2 separate regions of the Homo sapiens genome follow, and region 2 is linked to region 1. Evidence: promoter capture Hi-C in human tissues and cell types (Jung and others, 2019). All regions are on one chromosome and are shown on one strand. Each heading gives the region's core, a stretch centred on a gene start or on the middle of the fragment in contact. The rest is flanking DNA. Distances are from core to core; before and after follow the strand shown. Region 1 holds the start of RGS7BP (regulator of G protein signaling 7 binding protein). Region 2 overlaps RGS7BP (regulator of G protein signaling 7 binding protein).

Evidence for each region. Contacts are between HindIII fragments. The study calls those that stand out against the background at their distance.
Region 2: a contact is called between a fragment that was not itself captured here and the fragment with the promoter of RGS7BP in region 1, in 2 of the 25 tissues and cell types used here (H1 embryonic stem cells and dorsolateral prefrontal cortex).

The regions. Positions count from the first base shown.
Region 1 is chr5:64,502,923-64,509,323 of GRCh38, reverse strand. It overlaps RGS7BP (regulator of G protein signaling 7 binding protein), which reads right to left and starts at 3,309. Exons shown (of 6, transcript NM_001029875.3): 1 at 2,535-3,309; 2 at 1,447-1,613. The coding sequence starts at 2,699. The HindIII fragment of the contact is 10,674 bases long and covers 1-6,401 here.
Region 2 is chr5:64,548,479-64,554,879 of GRCh38, reverse strand. All of the region lies in intron 2 of RGS7BP (regulator of G protein signaling 7 binding protein), which reads right to left. Among named protein-coding and RNA genes, the nearest start is that of RGS7BP, 46 kb to the right of the region's middle. The HindIII fragment of the contact is 3,749 bases long and covers 1,773-5,521 here.

The DNA of each region.
Region 1 (6,401 bases), core at 2,060-4,559:
AGTTGCTACTCCTTAGCCTTGAGAGAAAATTTCCTGTCCTAAATCTGCTTTTCCTTTTGAATTACTGTTTATCTGTACTTCTAAATTTACCAGTGCTCCTTCACATTTCTGATTTTTTTTTTCTGTCTCTCTCCTTGTCTGAGATTTATCACAGCTGTATTTCTTCACCAAACTCCTGAACCACTTAATTCCCCTCCATTTCCCGGATTTACTTCTTGTTAAGAATAGTATAAGAGTTAAAACAGAAAAGGATAAGGCTTCTCAATATTTTTACTAAATAAAATATGGTTATAACATATTTTGTTTATCCCTCTCTTCAAGGAGATGAGTACAGCATATCATTTTTCATGATATAAAATGCCTGTGGTCAAATGTAAAGTAATTATTAACAGAGGCAGTATATGGCTTTCCAATCTTTATAAACTTTATAATCACTATACATATTATTGGAATTAAAGATGGCAAACAGTGATTCTTTCAAATAGGTAAATTAGATATACTTCCTACAAGTGATCAGCTTGTAACATTATCAGGTGAGTCTAATTTGAACTTCTGCTGCGATAAAGCTATACTCACATAGATAAACAGGTAAATACTATATCCAGACTGAACAAAGCACTTAAATTAATGTATTGATGTATTTGTATAAGGATTCCTGTGTTTCCTTGCTCTAAGTACTTATCTTGAAAATAGGAACTGTTAACAAAATCCATGGCTAACTTTTTCCCCAATATTAAGAGATGAAAGAAAGTGTAGGTAGGGTCCCAAGAGAGAAGTTTTCACATACTGAATTATCTCCTAATACAGGCTAGAAAAACGATAAATCTGATGAAAATAAATAAAAATTTGGGGGACAAAATCATGTTAGGTTTATTGAGATATGTGAATTTCCCCAATCTTTAAAAACTGTTCTTATGCTAAAACTTACCCCTTCCTATCACCACAGTGAAGAGAGTAATTTATATCTAAGACCTTATTTTAGGGATTTTATTTTAGGCGGTATCATAGGAATTTATCTCATGGTATAAATAGTTTAGTAAATCTGGGATTTGGGAAAGAGTTTTTCTCTACAGCACAGGCCTTTTGTTCAGCAGCAGATGACAAAATAATTTTGAGGCAAGATGATTTAACTTCAGTTTGATGTCCAGCCATCCACCCCAAATCTTATGCTCCAAATTCCAGAATGTGGCCAGAGTATTGAAAATTAAGTTTTTAAAAAATCATTTGATCCAAATCTTCTAAATATATATACATATATGCAAGAATGACACAGCCTTCAAATTATGGTTTGGCCTATAGTTTGTGTATAGCTCTCTAGAGAATTTCGATCTTAAGGTTAAAATCTCAAATATGTGGAGATCATGTCTGAGGACTTGACTACCATAAAATTCTGTCAGCATCCATGCATCATGTATATGGATTACCAAATAATGCCGAGTCTCCTACCCTGAGATGGCAGCCAATTTTTGGTGTGCCTGACGGGCCATTTCACAGCCTTTGGTTCTTGTCTTGTGCATTTCCGCCCGGAGTGAGGGGCAGCTGACCGAGACATCCCCAATAGAAATGACCAGCTCTCGGTACAGGGCCACTTGTGTGTTGAACTCTTGGACAAGCTGGAAAAGAAGTGAGTTTTTTTTTTTTTACCAAACATTTCTCATCAGAAAGTTTCCTGTTTCGGAGTACATAAACAGGGGCTTTCACTGACCCCTGAGTCAGCTCCCCAGATCTCCAGCTAAGGAACCTAGGAATTGTTTAAAGCAGAAGGCACCAAAATGGCAAGTCTCTTTGTCCAAGGCAAGTATTTATTTCCATAGGCAAGCCTGGCCATGGAAGCTCTATTTCCAGACCTACTTCCCCTCACCCTTTCAGACTCAGTTTCTGAAGAGCAAGAGAGCATATTTGGAGCGCTACCATGCCACTCCCAGGCCAACAGAGAATGATGCTGGGGACTCCTACATAGACGGTCCCCTCTCCTACTGCTAGGACATGGCTTTTAAGTTGCACGGCGGGAGGGGCGGGGGAGGCGACAGGTAGGGTGTAATAGGCAAACCATTCACCTTTTGCTGGGCCACTGAACCTCTCGGCCTGACGGCCTGACGGGAAGACCAGCTACAGCCTCTGCGCTGGAACCTTCGACCCCTCCGCAGCGCCCCGTGCGCTGTATTTGGGTTTGTTTGCTACTCTGTCCCCAGAAAGCAGCATCCCCACCTCCTCATCCCTCCCTCCTCCGTGAGCGAGCCAGTTCACTGTGTCTTTCGCATCCACCATTCTTCGAGGGGGTACAGGCACAACCTACAGCCGCTGATCCCCAAGACCCTTGCTGTCACACTTCTTTCTGCAGGGTTATTACGACCAGGGTGTCACCCTGAATTTGGGGGACTGCAGATTTAAAAATAGTGCATGTGCCACGTGATCGGCATTGAGGAGCTGAGGGTGGGGGAGTGGCTGGCACTCAGGCAAATGATTAACATACATGACTCCCCCCACCCCCTCTCAATTAAAAAAAAAAAAAAAGAGGCGCAGTTTTCACCCACCATCTTGCAGTCGTCCAGGGCTCGTTGGGTTTTGTGGGCGCTCTCGGAGCCGCTGCCCCTGCGCTCCCAATCTCCGCTCTGCAGCGGGGGCTTGCTGATCTGGAAGATCGAGGAGCGGGTGGACCGGCTGGGGCGCTTTTTGCGCCCATTCGGTGCAGAACTCATGCATACACATCCACCAAGCCGAAGCCGCTGGTGCAGTGCGCCCCGGCGCGGGCGGCCCGGTTGTTGCCCTGGGCGCCGCCGCCAAGCAGCCGGAGCCCGGACCTGAGGCGCGCAGCTCACAGTGCTGGGGCTGGCTGCGCGGGTCGGTAACCTTCAGCTTGAAGGAGAGCCGGGGAAGCGCTAGCTGTGCCGTGCAGCATCGCTTCCACTAGCAGCGAGGAAGGAGCGCGATCAAGTTCTGCTCAGCAGCATTGCCGACCCTGTCCCGGGAGCTGGGCGCTGGCGCGGGCTCGCACTGCCTTCCTCTCGGCATGGATTGCAAGGCTGGGCGAGAAGGAACGCGCCGCCCGGCGGTTCCGAGTTTCCATTCAGGTGGGGGAGCAGCTTTCAAAGCCTGCGCTGCAAGGTGGGGGGCGGAAAGGGGTGTCGCTCTTGCTTCAGTGTCTTCCCGCAGCGGCACTCGGTTCGTCTTTCCCCTCCCTCCACTGTCGCCAGGCCTGGAAGGACTGGCCGTCCCCAAAGCAAGCAATTGGCTCTAATCGGCTGCCTTGATCCCTCGTCTCTAAGGGCTTGTCTGTTTGAAGATCCCAGATGAATCTGTGGCGGGACTGGCAGACGCAGAGAATCGGTCCGGCTGACGTTGTTCGCGGGCCCGCACATTGATAGGACGGGAATACTAATGTGATCTGTCCATGCAACCCCCTTCCCCCTCCACAGTTTATGCACTTATCCAATCAAATCCCCGGGAACATCAATTGCAATATTACTTCATCTGCTCTATTATTAGAAACGAAAAGTGTCATCAGAGTGGAGCACATGCCACATGCTGGGACCTAAACATGGATTTCAAATAAGCCAGTGTGGGCTTGAGGCCCTCACCAACTGAGACTGAGACAGGGGCCACAGGAGGGAGTGAGGTTTTGCTCCAAATGGAAGACCTCTTGATAACCTAAAAGGAGAGCTTTGTTTCCCTGAGTTGTTTTGTTTTTATTTTGTCCTTGTTCATGGAGGGGGAAAGAGGAGAGCCAGTGAGGCAGAATGCACAGAGGCATTCACTCAGATTGGGCCTCATCCCCATCCCATTTCAAGTAGTAAAGCTCTTGGTCTTGCATTGCAGGGTCTCAGGACTCAGCTCCTAGAGTTCCCTTCCGGAGACTTGAACAAATAAGAGCCAAGAGATCTCCCTGGACACTCAAAATGACCTTCTTCTCACTTATGGGATATCAGTAACCCAGAGGCCAACAGAGGTGGCCCAGAAAATCGGGGATGATTCTTGTGTGAAAGGAGTGGGGGTGAGGCCCTCAGCCATTTAAGTTCACCCTTCCCACTGACATCTTCCTAAGGTTCTTCTGGGAGGAAGAGAGAGTGTTGTGGCATTCAACTCTAAGGCTCTAAGGATGCTTGTTCTCCTGAATGATTTGTTTGGAGAGGGAGATAAAGGGGTCTCCCATAGGAAAACTAGTTATGTATTAGTAATCCTAATAAGAACAGATTAGAGGTTCCTGGTCAGTCTGTTAAAGGGATATGGAGAGTACATAGAAAGAGAAAGCCTGAAATAGCCAGGAAGGTTAATATCCTAAGGAGGGTGGCTTTACAACCTTTTCTACAAGACAAGTAAATATAATGGGGTACTATAATAAGAGAGTTATTTGGTCTTTGTCCCCAGTCCCTAGGGCAGAACTCCTAAAACCCTTAGAAATTGCCTGAGTTATTATGATAAGCCATCTTGTCACCAGAAAGACCAAGCCTTGATTAGTTGCTTGCAACTTTCAGCCTCATCCCCCAATCTCAGGGGATAGGAGAGGAGCTAGTGACTGCGTTCCTCACCAATGGCCAATTATTTAATCAATCATGCCTACATAAAGAAACCTCTGTAAAACTCCTAAACAACAATAGAGTGTGGGGAGCTTCTGGGTTGTGGAAGACATCTAGGTGCTGGAAGGGTGGTACACCAGGAAAGAGCATGGAAGTTCCATGTCCTTTTCCCATACCTTGCCCTATGTTTCTCTTCCAGTTGGCTGCTCCTCAGTTGTATCCTTTAGAATAGACTGCTAATAGTAAGTAAAGCTCTTTCCTGAGTGCTGTGAGTCATTCTAGTGAATTACCAAATCTGAGAAGGTGGTTATAGGAACCCCTGAATTTGTCGCCAAGATGGAGAGAAGAGTTGGTAACCTGTGGATCCCATACTTGTGACTGGCCTCTGAGATGAGGGCAGTCTTGTGGGACTGAGCCCTTAAACCTGTAAATCTGACGTTAACTCTGGGTAGTTAGTGCCAGAAATGAGTTGTAGGCCACCTAATTGGTGTTAGAGAGTTGGAGAAGTGCTATTGGAAAAGACATCATGTATTTGGGTGGGAAGGAAAAAAAACCTAACAGATGGATCACTGAGTGGATATTTGGCTACATTTTTTTTTTTTCTGAGTCAGGGTCTTGCTCCGTCACCCAGATTGGAATTTAGTGACACCATGAGAGCTCACTTCAGCCTCAACTTCCTGGGCTCAGGTGATCCTCCCACTTCAGCCTCCCAAGTAGTTGAGACTACAGGCACATGCCACCTAATATTTTGTAAAGACAGAGTTTTGCCATGTTGCCCAGGCTGGTCTTGAACTCCTGAGCTCAAGTAATCCACACACCTTCACCTGCCAAAGTGCTGGGATTACAGGTGTGAGCCACTGCGCCTGACCAGAACTTCACACAAGCTTGAGAGTGAGTTTTCCCTATCAAAGACTAGAGAAAGGAGGCATCAGCTCTCAGGCCCAGACCTTGGTGTGCTGCTATCCTCCAGGTGTTTAGATGTCCCAGAGACTGAGAGAAAGGGCTCTTCTGCTGGTTGAATCTCCCCAAATATAAGAAGATAACAGGTTAGTGCTTAGTCAGCTCCCTGACCCTTTCTCTTTCCTGCAATCTCAATTACCTCCCCTCCCTTCCTCCCTCCCTCCTTTTTTTCCTTCCTTCCTTCCCTCCTTCCTTCCTTCCTTCCTTCCTTCCTTCCTTCCTTTTTTCCTTCCTTCCTTCCTCTCTCTCTTCCTTCTCTCTCTCTTTCTTTCATTCTTTTGTTCATTCGTTCATTCTACGGAGTCTCACTCTGTTTCCCAGGCTGTAGTGCAGACTTCTGAGTAGTTCCACAGACATGCCTGAGTTGGCCGCTCCTGAGTTGTATTCTTTAGAATAGACTGGTAATAGTAAGAAAAGCTCTTTCCTGAGTGCTGTGTCATTCTAGTGAATTACCAAATCTGAGAAGGAGGTTGTAGGAACCCCTTCCTACAACCTGAGCTGAGTGGACCACAGGCACGTGCCACCACACCCGGCTAACTTTTGTATTTTTAGTAGAGACAAGGTTTCACAATGTTGGCCAGGCTGGTCTCAAACTCCTGACCTCAGGTGATCTGCCTGCCTCAGCCTCCCAAAGTGCTGGGATTGCAGGCATGAGGCTCTGTGCCCAGCCCCAATTTTCTTTCTACTTAACGCGTGTAAAGAGAGAAGCAGAAAAACACATCAGGTGCCTGGGGTTTTGTGAGGGGTGAGGATGCTTGGGATGATGAAGAGGAAGATAACAGAGAGACTGAGGGGCTTTAAAGAAGGATCGATAATATTCATTTGTAGATGGTTTAAGTCCTGTGTTATAAACCTCTTTCACTGTCACTAGCTTACCCCTGCACTCTCCACCCAACTTTCAGGAAAAGTCTGCTATAACCCATTGTT
Region 2 (6,401 bases), core at 2,398-4,897, 45 kb before region 1:
AGAATTTATACGAGTTATTTTCCAAGTATGCTTGGTCTTTTTACATACTCTTTTGTCTCATGTTTTCAACTCTTCTCTTGTGTCTTTAATAATTTGACATATTTATTCTAAGTCATTAACAGGTAATGGTATTAACTAAAGCACTTGAAGGATTAAATCCTGCTGTTGACTTTGCATGTTCACTTTCACCTTTGCTAGATTCTTTCCTTGTGTGTTTTACAATTTAACTTGTGATCTCATATTCAGCAGACTTTATCTGTAGATTCCCGAGATGTATTGCTTTTGGACTATAACAACAGCATAGTCATGATTCTTAGGATGCCAAGTCAAGCAAACATCCTAGTTATCTTCTTGGGCTGGTGGTACATTTTCCCTACCTCTTCACTAAGCATGTAGCCCTTTGAAAATCCTGGCTTGAATCAGAATTGTAACAGGAGACAAATGGATGATTTGAAGAGCATCTCTTTACACAGGGAGTAATTACAAAGGTATGGGTGGCAAACAGAAACACCAAGGAATTTGAGGTTGGCTGTATGGTGCTGTCACTACGAAGGATGAGAGGAGGAAGAGGTTCCTGGCACCTGAAAGGAGAAACAGTTGTATAGTGCAGGCCTCCTTGTGTAGAACAGTGACCTGAAGTTATGGGAGACAGTTCAAAATAACCTTATAGAGAGGGAAACGGGAGAATAAATACCCTGGCTTAACTCTTCTCCTTCCTTCCAATGTCCTGCCAGAGTTCCCGATTGACCAAGCCAAACTGAAATCCAGAGGATAAGGGAGTGGGATGATATAGGGTGGAGAAGGGCAAAGAGCAGATTTGGAGGGTCAAAGAGCAGATATCCAGCAAATGACTTTATGTGTATATCTCAGTTCTAATTCCTGCTCCCATATGATCTTCTAACTACAAGCCCCTTTTTAATGGAGTCAACGAACTCCCTCAGGGAAGCCATAGTATCAGACCATGCTGCCTTTCAACTCACTTTTTGTTCCCTATTCATTTTTGACCCTGAAGATTTCTCTTCCTTTCCTGTGAGCTTAGTTATACATTTAAGAGGGTGTTTGTATACATTGTACAACTTAACTATCTTGTTTGTTTTAGGGTTATTTAACCAGTGTCTTGCCAGAAATAGATACATTATCTCACTCAATCTTACACAGACCTTATGATGTATAGATATTATTAATATTTTAAAGATGAGGAAACTGAGACTTGGTTAATTCTCAGGGGTCATAGAACTATGAAGCCTAGGATTGGTACTGTAACCCCAAAGCCTAGGCTCTTTCTACTACACTAAACATTGGGTGCAAGCATGCTATCAAAATGTTGGCTGACATTTTGAAAAAAAAAGTGTCATTTTGAAAGAAAAGAAAGAAAGAATGTAGAAAAGAATAAAGGAAGAAAGGAAGGGGCTGGGCATGGTGTCTCACGCTTGTAATCCTAGCACTTTGGGAGACCGAGGCAGGTGGATCACCTGAGGTCAGGCATTCAAGACCAGCCTGGCCAATGTGGTGAAACCCCATCTTTACAAAAATACAAAAACTAGCTGGGTGTAGTGGCACATGCCTGTAATCCCAGCTACTCAGGAGGCTGAGGCAGGAGAATTGTTTGAACCTGAGAGACAGAGGTTGCAGTGAGCCAAGATCATGCCACTGCACTCCAGCCTGGGTGACAGAGTGAGACTCCGTTTCAAAAAAAAAAAAAAAAAAAGAAAGAAAGAAAGGAAGGAAGTCCTACAGATTCAAGTTACACTAAGTCATCTGAAAGATTAACTATAAAGCTCCAAAAATAAAAGGCAGGCTAAAAAACAAGAATACTAGAGGTTCATTAATAAGGACTGACATTTAAGTGTTATAGGTTGTAGGTGCAAATCTGACATTGATTCTCCCATGGAAGCCATTATTAAGGGAGGAAGAAAAGAAGTAAGTCCGGATAATTTATTTTCTTTTGGACAGCACAAGACTGTGAAACAAAAACATCCTGATTTCAAATTATCTGGGCTTTTGCAACTGTCCCATGTTACTTCAAAACAGAATCAACTACTTGGGAGGCTGAGGCAGGAGGGTTACTTGAGCCCAGGAGTTTGAGACCAGCCTGGGCAACATAGCAAGACCCTGTCTCAAACAAAACAAAACAGAATCAAAAGCCTCTAAATTGACAAAATAGTCAATAGACACCATGGAAAGAAAATAGCAACATTTACAAGGCCAGAAAGCCACAATCTAAATTCAGACCCAGGTGATAAAAGTTGATGATGCAGAGTGGAAATTCTCATTCCAGATTATGTCAAATCAGGACAAACACTTATTTCATGTATAGAGGCAATTCAAAATGAAGATATGTTAGGTATGTCGAGTCAGTTCTAATTCTCCTTTGTTGAGAAATTAGTACAAAGATGAAAGAAAACAAGAAAAAGAAAAGAGTATTCCCTCAAATTCAATAAGATACTTTCTACTTCATAAGTTAAATAATTAAGAAAATGTCAGAAGTAGTTAAGATAGTCTAAAAACTGACTAAGTTTTGGAAAGCTATTTAGAAAATATTACTGACTTTGGAAAAAATAATCAGAATTGGGAGAAGAAAAAAGAGTAACCATTTCTGAAAATAAGAACAGAAATTTTTTCTAATAGATACAGTTTAAAATACCATTTTAGGAGATGTTATTTAGGGGATAAATTTTTCTAGACTGTTTACATTAGACCACATTATCACCATTTGTGATCATCAAAAGACATATTTTATTGAGTGTTGAATACACTTTAAAATATACCTTGAAAATAAGGAAAGTTAGTTATGCAGATAAAAAGTGAAGAGATGCCTTATTTTTTCAAAAATTTTGATAAAGGCACATATCCAGCTTCTAATACAAATTCTAATCCAGTTTATAAGGTATCAAACATGCAGTTGTCAAGCTAACCTGCTTCTGTTTTTAGTATACTGATGAACTTACTGTAAGGATGTCAGCTGAACAAATATATTTTTAGAAGAAACTATATATGAACCAGATGATATGTAATTGGAACAATTGAAAAGTGATCTTAAAATTTAAAAAGTAAAAGATTTTAGATTAGCTATAAAGAATAGAATACTAATATATAATGGACAAAGTAATTATTAATAACTGCTTAACATATAATAAAAGGAAAGAAAGAAATTTCAACAAAATGCAGAAAAACATGCTGTGTTTTCCAGACCTAAAAACGGCCAGAAGCTCTTTAGAATAATCCCTTTGGTCTTAATAGTCAAGTGCTGATTTGAAATATTTTTTCTAAATACTTGATGTCTAAAGATGAATTGAAGCACACTCTATAGTCTTAATATAGGGTGACTCCCATAAAAATCCTTAAGACACACAATTTAGGAGGCTAAGGCCGGCTGATGGCTTGAGGTTAGGAGTTTGAGACCAGCCTGGCCAAAATGGTGAAACCCTGTCTCTACTAAAAATACAAAAATTAAGCAGGCGTCATGGCACACATCTGTAATCCCAGCCACTCGGGAGGCTGAGGCAGGAGAATTGCTTGAATTGGGGAGGCAGAGGTTGCAGTGAGCCAAGATTGCGCCACTGCACTCCAGGCTGGGAGACAGAGTGAGACTCCATCTCAAAAAAAAAAAAATAAAATAAAAAATAAATAAAAAAATAAAAAAAATCCTTAAGACACAGGATGCTTCTATAGACAGTAATCTTTGTCTGTTTTAACACTGTGTTGGCAGAAGGGGGAACATTCTTGAATATGGGTGACAAATAAGCAGAAAACCCAATACAGAGAGTAGGTAGAAATGACTTGTGTTTCAAGGAAATGAAACCTCAGTTGAGCCAGCATTCAATATGGGTAATTGCTGCTATGATTGTATTCTGGTTTAAAAGCTTTAGAAAATAATATTTATATAATTTTGAACACTTCATTTTTAATATATTAAGAAAATGCAGCACATATACACCATGGAATACTATGCAGCCATAAAAAATGATGAGTTCATGTCCTTTGTAAGGACATGGATGAAACTGGAAACCATCATTCTTAGCAAACTATCGCAAGGACAAAAAACCAAACACCGCATGTTCTCACTCATAGATGGGAATTGAACAATGAGAACACATGGACACAGGAAGGGGAACATCACACACTGGGGACTGTTGCAGGGTTGGGGGAGGGGGGAGGGATAGCATTAGGAGATATACCTAATGCTAAATGATGAGTTAATGGGTGCAGCACACCAACATAGCACATGTATACATATGTAACAAACCTGCACATTGTGCACATGTACCCTAAAACTTAAAGTATAATAATAATAAAATTAAAAAAATGCATTTGTTTTACAAAGTGAGAAATATTCTACATTATGGCCTGAATCCCCTCACCAAATTCATATGTTAAAGCTGTAACTGTCAATGTGATGATGGTATTTGGAGATGGGGTATTTAGATGAGGGTTAGATGAGGTCATAAGGGTGGGGCCCTAGTCTGAGGGGTTAGTGCCTTTAGAAAAAGAGACATCAGAAAGCTTGTTCTCTCTTTCACTCTGCCAAGTGAGAATACAGTGAGATAGTGGCCATCTGCAAGCCAGGAAAAGAGCCCTGGCTCTCAACTATGCTGGCATCCTGATCTTGAATGTTCAGCTTTCATAACTGTGAGAAAATCAGTGTCTGTTGTTTAAGCCACCTGGTCTGTGGTATTTTGTTATGGCAGTCAGAGCAGACTGCTATAACAAATACCTAAACATGTGGAAGTGGCTTTGGAACTGGGTAATGGGTAGAGGCTGGAAGAGTTTCAATGTACATGCCAGAAATGGAGGTTAAGGGTGATTCTGGTAAGGTATCAGACAGAAATGAGGAACATATTTTGGAAACTGCAGGAAAGATGATCCTTGTTATAAAGTAACAAAAAACTTGGCTGAACTGTTTTCTCGTGTTTTGTGGAAGGTAGAACTACCAAGCGATGACATTGGGTATTTAGCTGAAAAGATTTCTAAGTGTTGAAGGAGTGACTTGGCTCCTCTGAGTGCTTACAGTAAAATGTAAAAGAAGAGAGATGAATTGAAGAAGGAATTGTTTAGCAAAAAGAAACCAGAACTTGAGGATTTGGAAAATTCTCAGCCTACCCATATTATAAAAAATAATGAGAAAGCTTGTTCTGAAGAGAACACCAAGGGTGTGGCTGGACCATCACTTGATAAAGAGCTTATGGGATTATATGAGCAGAAGCACTGCCAGTTTGAACAGAAGGGGATGGAGACAGGACAAAATGAAGGAAAGCTGTCAGACTTTTCAGACTTGACAGGAGGGAATGATCAAGCTATTCAGCCATGTGTGATATTCTTCAAGAAGAAGAAAAAATGACCCTGAAGGTGATTCAGAAATTTCAAGGCCACTGCCTCAGTATCAACAGGCCAGATGGCCTGTGCCTGAAGCCTTGAGGGCAGAACTGCTTGGCAGAGCCATGGGGGCAGGACCCCCACCTGGAGCCATAGGCTGACTCTGCCACCCAGTTGACCTGGAGGACAGAGCATTGAACCAGAGAGGATTATTCCCAAGCCTTAACATCTAATGGAATTTGTTTTGCTAAACTTTGGACTTGATTGGGACCTGTCACCCCTTCCTTTTTTCCTATCTATCTCTCCCTTTTGCAACGGGAATATCTAGCCTGTGTCTGCCACATCATTGTATTTTGGAAGTACATAACTTGTCTGTTTTCACAGATATATAGCTGGCGAGGAATTCTGCCTCAGGATGAATTATACCTCAACTCTCATTCATATCTGATTTAGGTGTTATTTAGATGAGACCTTGGACTTTAAAATTTAGAGGTGATGCTGGAATGAGTTAAGACTTTCAGAGCTATTGGGATGGAATGTATTTTGCGTGAGAGAAGCATACAAATTTTGGAAGGCCAAAAATGGAATGTGTGTGACTGAAAGCTTGTGTCCCCCGACAAATTTATATGTTGAAGTCCTAACCCACAATGTGATGGTATTTAGTGATGAGGTCTTTGGGAAGTAATTAGGGTACTTAGTAAAAAAAAAAAAAAAAGGAAAGGGCTTTCGACTTTGCCTTTTTTTAGAAAAACAAGAACAAGGCCAGGAGTGGTGGCTCATGCTTATAATCCCAGCACCTTGGGAGGCCGAGGTGGGCAGATCACTTGAGGTCAGAAGTTCGAGACCAGCCTGGCCAACATGATGAAACCCCGTCTCTACTAAAAATACAAAAATTAGCCAGATGTAGTGGTGGGTGCCTGTAATCCCAGCTGCTCAGGAGGCTGAGGCAGAATTGCTTGAAACCAGGAGGCGGAGGTTGCAGTGAGCCGAGATCACGCCACTGCACTCCAGCCTGGGTGACAGAGCGAGACTCCATCTCAGAAAGTAAAAAAATAAAAAAGAGAACAGGTTGGTTGTCCAGTAAAATA